2 separate regions of the Homo sapiens genome follow, and region 1 is linked to region 2. Evidence: promoter capture Hi-C in 16 types of primary human blood cells and fetal thymus (Javierre and others, 2016). All regions are on one chromosome and are shown on one strand. The core of a region is centred on a gene start or on the middle of the fragment in contact, and the rest is flanking DNA. Distances in the headings are between cores, read along the strand shown. Region 1 overlaps RAD54B (RAD54 homolog B). Region 2 holds the start of RAD54B (RAD54 homolog B).

Region 1 (4,619 bases), core at 549-3,048, 66 kb after region 2:
TGGTTTTGTTTGAATGACCTTACTACTTAGACATTAAAGTCATTTTTAATAATGTGTGTTTTTTTTTTAATTGTAGTTCATTCGGCTCCTAAAGAAGTAGCAGTGTCCAAGGAACAAGAAGAGAAATCTGATAGCCTAGTTAAATATTTCAGTGTTGTTTGGTGTAAGCCTTCAAAGAAAAAACATAAAAAGTGGGAAGGTGATGCTGTTCTTATTGTAAAAGGAAAGTCATTTATATTAAAGAATTTGGAAGGCAAAGACATTGGAAGAGGTATTATGATACTACCTAATGTTTACAGTTTGGCCTGAAATTAGTATGTATCTCCGGTTACATAATTGAAATGTAATTGGGTTTTATAAAGAGATGATAAGGTATTCTTTAATGGATGTTCATGCCTCAACTGTGTATAATACATAAAATAATCTCATAATGGTTAGTGAGCCTGACAATCTTATGGTTTATGCTAGCTCAGTGAAGCAAATCCTATCCTATGGTTTCATTTTCTCCAAAAATGGCCAGCCAGCTATATATAGTTATTTTGGTACTTTTCTGAGCTTAAACACTAAATTTGACTTGGTATACTTTCTCTCTCTCTCTTTTTAAGAATGCTAAGTGGTTAAAATTGAAAAATATGTTGATATCAAGTTGAATGATATGTAATTTCAGCACTACTCAATAATGTTTTGAAAAACAGAGCAAGGAGATAATGGTTAGGCCTGACCTAGATTAACATATGGAAATTGGAGGTTGCCATTGTTTCTGTTACAAAATGTTGCCAGCATAATTTGTAGTAATACAAGTTAGGCTACAAATTAAGAATGGCTAACACCAACTACAGTGTCTTTGCATTGTCTCAGTTCAATTTTGAGTGTGACCTATAACTATAAAATCTGTTCTACATGTTTATTTACTTAAAAATATAGTTTATAGTTTTTAATAACTATTATGTGCCAGGCAGTATGCTAGGAATACCAAAGATGATTATAATTTATAATTTAGTGGGAACAAAGCAAAGTAATTGATGATTAGGAAGCAATAATACAGTTGTTTCAATGAGAAGTTTTACTAAATGCAGTTGGAGCATAAAAGAACCATTTAATCTGCCCAGGAAGCAGTGGGAGCATAAAAGAACCATTTAATCTGCACAGGAGGCTAGGGGTAAGCTTGATAGGAGTTACCGTTTAAGATACTATTTGAAGGATGAATAGTTTTGGAGGTTATAGGTAAGGGCCATGTGCAAGAGAGAATAGCACATGTAAAGGCACAAAAGCAGGAAGGAATTCAAACTAGTTCAGTGTTTCAGGAATGTAGTGTATGAAAGGCCGTGACAGTGTTAAGAGTTGAAGCAAACTAAATTATCTACAATAGAATGTTTTATTTATTATAAAAATATGGAACAACTGTGTATAGTGATTGGGGAAGTAAAAAGAAAAATAGATAGTACACATTCTATGTTGGTTAAGGTCGATTGGGGCTAGATTTTTGGAGAATTTGTTCATGCATTGGTATTGCCTCTTTAGTGAAATTCTAAAGTCAGTGAGAGAGGAAAAATTATCACAATTACTTTGGAATATCTTTTACCCCTAAGGTATAGTGTGCATGGTTTTGCATATGTGTAGTTTATAATAAAATGATCTTTCAGTTGCAAGTAACAAAAAATGAAAATTAGGCTTAAAACAGTGGGTTTTTACCCTGACCATGCCAGTAGAATCATCTGAGGTGCTTTTAAGGGTGTAGTGGCTCACGCCTGTAATCTCAGCACTTTGGGAGGCTGATGGGGAAGGATTGCTTGAGGCTAAGTTCGAGACCAGCCTGGGCAACTTAGCAAGACCTTGTCTATACAAAAAAATAAATTAACCAGGTGTAGTGGCATGCATCTGTAACTCTAACTACTTGGGAGACTGAGGCAGGAAGATTGCTTGAACCCAGGAGATCGAGGCTGCAGTGAGCCTTGATCCTGCCACTGCACTCCAGCCTGGGCTGGAGAGACCCTGTCTCTTAAAAAAAAAAAAGAAAGAAAAAGAAAAGAAATGCCGATGCCCAGACTCTGACCTTTCTTTGAGGCTCTGATTTATTTGGCCTGTATGGTAGGGAGAGGGACTGAACATAGGTATATTTTAGGGTTTTCAAAATGAAAATATCCAAACATAGGACTTGGTTGCTTAATTATAACATTAATAAATGTATTAACCTGAAGTTAATTTTGCAAGTTACTGTCTATAAGCAGTTTTTCTTTTAAATAACTGGGATATACAATATGTAAATTTGTTAATGTAAAGATAGAGGTGCTAAGAAAACTGAAAGCTGGAATGCTAAAATTGCTAATAGCTTGTGATAATGCATCAGGCTCAGTTGGCCATCATTGCATAATACCTAGGAAAAAAAAAAAACCAGTATGTGAAACAAAGTTTAAGAGTAAAAGAAAAGCTTCTAGCGACTGAGATGTTTGAAAGAGTCACCTTTGGATCAAGATCATCTATGGATCTAAATGAAATGAGAGATCTTGGAATTAGAGCTACTTTAAAGGTACCTCAAAGTTAAAAGGTTATTCTTGTCTTCCATTTCCATGTAAAACTGAGATTAACAGTAATTGGATTTTATGTGAAGATAAAACTATAATCTTCATTAATTTGGATAAGTGAAGACCAATACTGATTTGGGATGGAGTGATGGGTCTTTGACATTGAGCTAAGTAATTTCTTCCTATATCAGAGCATTACAATTAAAAAGTATTCCACCATAAATAATTTAAGACTATATATTAAATACAGATTGGCACAGATTATAAATTTTAGGCCAGTTTCAGTAGAGAAAATTTTAGTAATTTTCAACTACTTGAAAAGGGTCATCATATTTTCTAAAATGTGGCAGTCTTTTATTATTATTTTTAGAGACTTAAAAGTTTCTGGTATACACAGCTCCTTTGCTTGGTAATGGCACAATAACTACACATTTAATAGTTTAATGCATTTAATAGACAAGCATGGAAGTCTAAAATGCCATCTATGTGGTTAGTGAACTCATTTTAAGCAGCCCATGACTGACTTATCCATACTTATATTTCATCAGCACCTTTACACAGCAACACTTAATAAATGTTCATCAAATTAATAATAATTCAAACAAGCTTAATATTACAAAATATTCCATGTTTTATTAAAGAGTTAGAACATGGAATATCTGTGACCTCTTGCCACAACTGTATTTTAACTTTGCTATCTCATGTGGAACAGTCAGTACTAGTTGTGGTAGCAGTTGCTTTTATTGCTAGTTCTCCTTCACATTTCTAGCTGTTTCTAAGTGAAAATAGAGGTACCATGATGTTTCTGTAGTTTATTTACAAGAAAGGAGGATACATATAGCCTATCAAACTATTTTCTTGGCTTAATTTTTCCGGACAAGAGATGGCAAAACTATAGAGTACAATAATCTATATTTTCAATAGTAAAAAAATTCTTGCTTTCTCTAAAGCATGGCTAATTTGATAGCTGTATTATTTCTTTTGATTTTCAATGTTTTTTTTAACCAAAATGTTAAATTATGCTTCCATTTTGGCTAATGCATTATATAAGACTATTTACATTCAAAGTGCAGTTTTTTTGTACAGTTACGGGAAGGTGACCGTGGTATCATAGAGTGTCAATTAATTTTTTTCTTTCTTAACTTAAAGGCATTGGTTATAAATTCAAAGAGCTTGAAAAGATTGAAGAGGGCCAAACACTGATGATTTGTGGAAAAGAAATAGAAGTCATGGGTGTAATCTCTCCAGATGACTTCAGCAGTGGCAGGTGTTTTCAGCTTGGAGGAGGAAGTACTGCTATCTCGCATTCTTCTCAGGTTGCCAGGAAATGTTTCTCTAACCCTTTCAAAAGTGTTTGTAAACCAAGTTCAAAGGAAAATAGACAGAATGATTTCCAAAATTGCAAACCACGCCATGACCCATATACGCCAAGTAAGATTTTAAAAATAATTTGAATTTTCTGTTTTTACTGTCAAAATGTTTTTTGTGTGTGAATTTGAAGTTTAAATTTTGTTTTAAAAGTTTTAGGTGAAAGTATACATTATTCTTGAGATATATAATCTGACATAAGAGATAATGTTGAAGTCAAATAACAATATAGTTTGGGAATTATTTCATATGTAAATGAATAATTCTAAGAATACAGTAATAAAAATACTGTACATGTGTTGAAGGAAACATATCTAAATTGTATGTGTATACATTACACATACATGTGTATAATTTTGAATAAAATCTGACTTTTTAGTAAGGAGAGAAATTAGTAAATGTATTAATCTGGACTATGATTATACTTCTAATTTGAGGACTGTATGCCTTGATCACAAGCATTAGTGTGTAAAAATATTGAATGGTAAGATTTCATGCAAAGTCCAAATTTTACTAGTGAAAGTTCCATTCAATCAGTTAATTTTCACACTGATGAATGCAATTTTAAAAATCACATTAAAAAAAAAGAAACCTAGATTGTATCTGATTGTTCTTTTGACTGTTCACTCAGCAGGTATTTCTTGATTGCCTTTTATGGGTTGGGCCTAAAGATAAAACTGTCATCACAGAGCTTCTCATTTGGTGAGGGGAAGGACAAGTAATCCGAAT
Region 2 (4,438 bases), core at 52-2,551:
CAATCTGTTTTAGATTTTCTGAACTCCCCAGATGATATTAAGGTAGGCTGCAGACACTATGAAGCTAGCTTGTTTTCTGGTTACCCTTACTCTTTATGTGTCCCAGTCCAAAGAAGAGGGGGGTGCGGTTTACTAAGGTGCCCAACCTTGGCAGGTCCCCATTTCAAATTCTTGTAACGCTGGCTCCAGGAGCTGCCAAAAGCACAACTCAACCTATGAGGTGCTCTTTATGACTGGAAAAAGTCCCCAGGATAAAAGCTCCTTAAGCACATTACTCTTTTTTTTTGAAACAGGGTCTCTCTGCTGCCCAGGCTGGAGTGCTGCGGCACCATCTCGGTTCATTGCAGCCTTCACCTCCCAGGTTCAAGCGATTCTCCCGCCTTAGTCTGCTGAGTAGCTGGGATTACAGGCGCGCTCCACCAAAACCAGCTAATTTTTGTATTTTTAGTACAGACCGGGTTTCACCATGTTGGCCAGGCTGGTCTCGAACTCCTGACCTCAAGTGATCCGCCCGCCTCGGCCTCCCAAAGTACTGGGATTACAGGCACAAGCCACCGCTCTCAGCCTCAAATTACTCTTTTAAATGGCTGTACCTATTTACACTCCTACCAGCAGCCCAAGAGTTCCCATTGTTTCACATCTTCATTTCACCCTTGATATTTTTTAGCTTTTACTTTTTGTCAAACTGCTGGATAAAACTCAATAAACAACCTTTAGCCATTCTCTCTCCTTTCAGATTAGCCTTTCTAATACCATTTTTCAGGGATAGTTGACTGTGTTACCGCCTAGCACTTAGAAGGTGCTCAGTAAATACTCATTGAATGATGTAACTTTCCTACTTAACATGCTTTAATGCTTTTCCAAGTCCGGAGGCGGCTCCCCTTTTCTGAGAGCCTAATAATCACGTATTCGTTTCTATATTCCCAGAACCTAACAAAGAGTTTGAAAATTATCCTGCAGGCACCGCTAAGTCAATGTTTTTTCGGATGAATGAATAACCAATAGGATATCGTATACTTCTGCGATGCACGCATTTCTATTATCGCACACACCGAATCATACCGTATTTATTACTTATCCACGCAGATGGTGAGGTCTGTAGCCTCGGCATCTACACTGTGTCTGAAAGTAGGCACTAAACCAGTATTTTTTTAATTGAACCGTAAACTTGAATCAAACTTGGAAGCATTTAAAGCCAAACGCAAAGATACATGCGCAGTGATGCAGTAGGGTCGTCCAATCAGAGTAGGGCAGGACAGGGCAGTGCAGCGGCTAGGTAGTGCGCACGCGCGGCGGGCTCGTCCGCGATTGGCTTCGCCGAGGCGGGATCCTTGAGCTTCTCCGGCGGCGAGGGGATAGCTGGTTACCAGAAGGACTTCTTTGCAGGGCCAGTGGTTTCTGTCAGATTTTCGCCGGTGCGTCCTGCAGGGGGAAGCTCGGGAGGCTGCGACAGCCTGTAGGCTCGTGCGGGACAAAGCAGGGAGTGGCGCCGGAGCAGGCCAACGAGGGAGGAGGGAGGGAAGGCGGCAGGAGCGACCGAAGTGGCCTTCTGCGGGCCTGCAGCTTTGGTCTGAAGTGCCAGGGACGCCCTGGTTGCTGGCCCCGGGGGCCTTGGAGCGAAGGGCGGGCGGTGGGGGTTTAGGGTTGTGCGTTTGTGTGGGAGGGATGGTTCTGGGCAGTGGCCCCTGGGGCCGCCACTGCGGTCGCTTTGCGCAGGCTCCTCTTGGCTTTTGGGTCTCTCCCTCACTCCTGCACTGGGAATTTCCTTCCCCAGGGCCAGGGGGTGAAGGCTCTGCGAGCGTCCTGGAGAGTGTCGGTACGCCTTCTTTAGGGGCTTTTACCTCTTCACTGGTCAGGTTTTTCTTGTATTTCCTTAAAACCTTTTAATCGATTACCTTATGGAAGATTTTCTAGGTAGGAACAGATGCTTCTCGACTTACTACGGGGTTGAAAATATCCCAAATGGAAAATGGATTTAAAACACAGCTAACCTACTGAGTATTAAAGCTTGGCCTAGCCTACTTTTGTTATCAAAAAAATTATTTTCAGCTGTTTATTTTAGATTTGGGGGTACATGTGCAGGTTTGTTGCATCGGTATATTACGTGGTGCTGAGGTTTGGATACGATTGATCCTGTCACCCAGGTAGTGAGCATGTTACCCAATAGTTTTTGAACCCTTGCTCCTCCTTTCCTCTCCCTTCTAGTTGTCTCCACTGTCTATTGTTGCCATCTTTATGTTCATGAATGCCCAATGTTTAGCTCCCATTTATAAGTGAGAACATGCAATATTTGATTTTCTGTTTCTGCTTTAATTCGCTTTGGATAATAGCCTCCAGCTGCACCCATGTTGCTGCAAAGGACATGATTTCATTCCTTTTTATGGCTGCGCTAGCCTACCTTAAACATGCTCAGAACACTTACCTTAATCTACAGTTGGGCAAAATCATGAACACAGACGGTTGTGTGGTTACTTGTACAGTTTCTACTGAATGCTCATGGCTTTCTTAAAAGTCGAAGAATTCTAAGTGACACCGTCCTAAATTAGGAACCATCTATATAGCCGGAGTCTCAAAGGAGCAATTTAAGGCATGAAGTGAAATAATTACTACCTAATGTAGTTGGAAGTCGACAAGCAGCAACAGCAGGGAGAGACCGTTGCTGGTTCTTGGTAGAGTTGGTGTACTTACATTCTTGCATCCTCGACGTTTGATGGTTGCACATACCTCTCTTTAAAGCCCAGACGAACCCAAAGATTCTGGTCATTGTCCTGTATGTTGAACTACCCCTTCTCTATCTCCTTCACAGGACCTTCATCATTTCTACTCTCCGATAATACTAATTATAACAGATAACATTGAGTGCTTACTATGTGTCAAGTTTTGTTCTAAGTGCTTTACATATTTCATTTAATCCTCCCAACAGTCCGGTGTGTAAGCATGATTATGGTACCCCCTCTTAAAGATGAGGAAACTGAGACACATGGAGCCAAAGTAAACTGTGCAAGACCATTAGAAAGTGTCAGTCCACATTTATATTCAGGCATTTGCTTTCAAAGTTGTGTTCTTATTTACCACAGTGTAGTGCCAAGTACTTGTGGCTATCTGGTGTATTACAGTTGTCAGCTTGGCCTTACCATTTTACTTGGAAGGACTGAAACTAATAGGTGTTATAGAAGTTGTAGCATCACATCAGGGCTACCAAATGGCTTTATTTCTAGGACCTGGGGAAAGGGCTCAGACAGCACTAATTAATTAATTAATTTATTATGGACAGGACAATATGAACATACAGAACCAGTTTAAAAAGCTATAAGGGTGCAATGGTCTTTTGGGGGGAAATGTACTGATTTCTGCATTTTACTTTGTATCAACAAATTAAATGGCTTGATGGATGCCCAAGGTCATATGTAAGTAGCAGAGTTGGGATTCTAGCCAGGCAGCCTGGCTGGCTCCAGAGTCAGTCTGTTTTCTTAACCACTGCTCTGTGCTGATGGTTGTATGCTTGCATTATCATTTTTATTAGTTTACAAAATAGGAGGATTGAAAAATCAGAAATCATGTATTAGATGTAGAAGGATTTAGGGTAGTAATTCTTCGCATTTAGTGTTGAAAGAAATTTTAGCATCTAGTTCATTCTTTATTTTATAAATGAGAAAATTGGTGTCTAGAGAGTTAAATAGCTTCCCCAAAGTTAAGCATCCCTGAAATAGCAGAATCTGAACTACACTCTGGTTTCCTTCATTTCTACTGTTGATGTTTCTAACTACTGTATTTTTTAAGTGTTCCTTTTTAAAAAGTGTCAGAATTTTCACAGTATTAGAGGGGAGTCTGACTAATGTAGAGAACAGAACTGATTACATTTCATGATGTGGACATCATATTTTTATTAATGCTATCTAGAATTTATTAGTTTAAGAAGGCTCATTATCTTATTTCAGTTGAGCTATAGTCACTAAAATCTTTAGTTTTAAATTTCAGCTTCTATTGTTCTATTTCATTTGACCATTAAGTAACTGAGTCTAAGTGCAAGGCCTAACATCCATGTCGTCCTGTGACAGTTACCGTTAATCAATTTCAAACTTGTGTCAGTTATATATTTAGAGGCCTGTAGTATTCTGCTTACCCATTATAAAAAGGAAATTAGTTTAATGAAGTTATTTTGGCATGACTTGTTTGGTCAGAATTTGTACTGACTTCTGGTATTGGTAAATACTGCTTCTAAAGCAGTCAAAAACCATCTGTTTCATAATTTGCTTTAAGATTAAAGATTATACTAATAGAGATCTATTTTGTCCTTGAATAAGAAACAGAAGAGAGTGATCTCTCCTACTCATTCCTCAAACTATATAAAGGCTGGTTATATATAAAATATTTACATGTTTCATTATTTTAACATTGATGAAATTGGGAAATGTCTAACCATCAATGATAGTGTATC

Evidence for each region. The method cuts DNA at HindIII sites, captures the fragments that hold promoters and counts their contacts. A CHiCAGO score of 5 or more calls a contact.
Region 1: a fragment that was not itself captured here is called in contact with the fragment with the promoter of RAD54B in region 2 in 1 of 17 cell types (naive CD4 T cells); the score reaches 5.1 in naive CD4 T cells.

What each region holds. Positions count from the first base shown.
Region 1 is chr8:94,406,773-94,411,391 of GRCh38, reverse strand. RAD54B (RAD54 homolog B) reads left to right here. Exons shown (of 15, transcript NM_012415.3): 4 at 77-271; 5 at 3,672-3,953. Among named protein-coding and RNA genes, the nearest start is that of FSBP, 28 kb to the left of the region's middle. The HindIII fragment of the contact is 1,264 bases long and covers 1,167-2,430 here.
Region 2 is chr8:94,471,978-94,476,415 of GRCh38, reverse strand. It overlaps RAD54B (RAD54 homolog B), which reads left to right and starts at 1,301. Exons shown (of 15, transcript NM_012415.3): 1 at 1,301-1,415. RefSeq lists an enhancer at 1,339-1,568 and a silencer at 3,037-3,086. The HindIII fragment of the contact is 4,488 bases long and covers 1-2,009 here.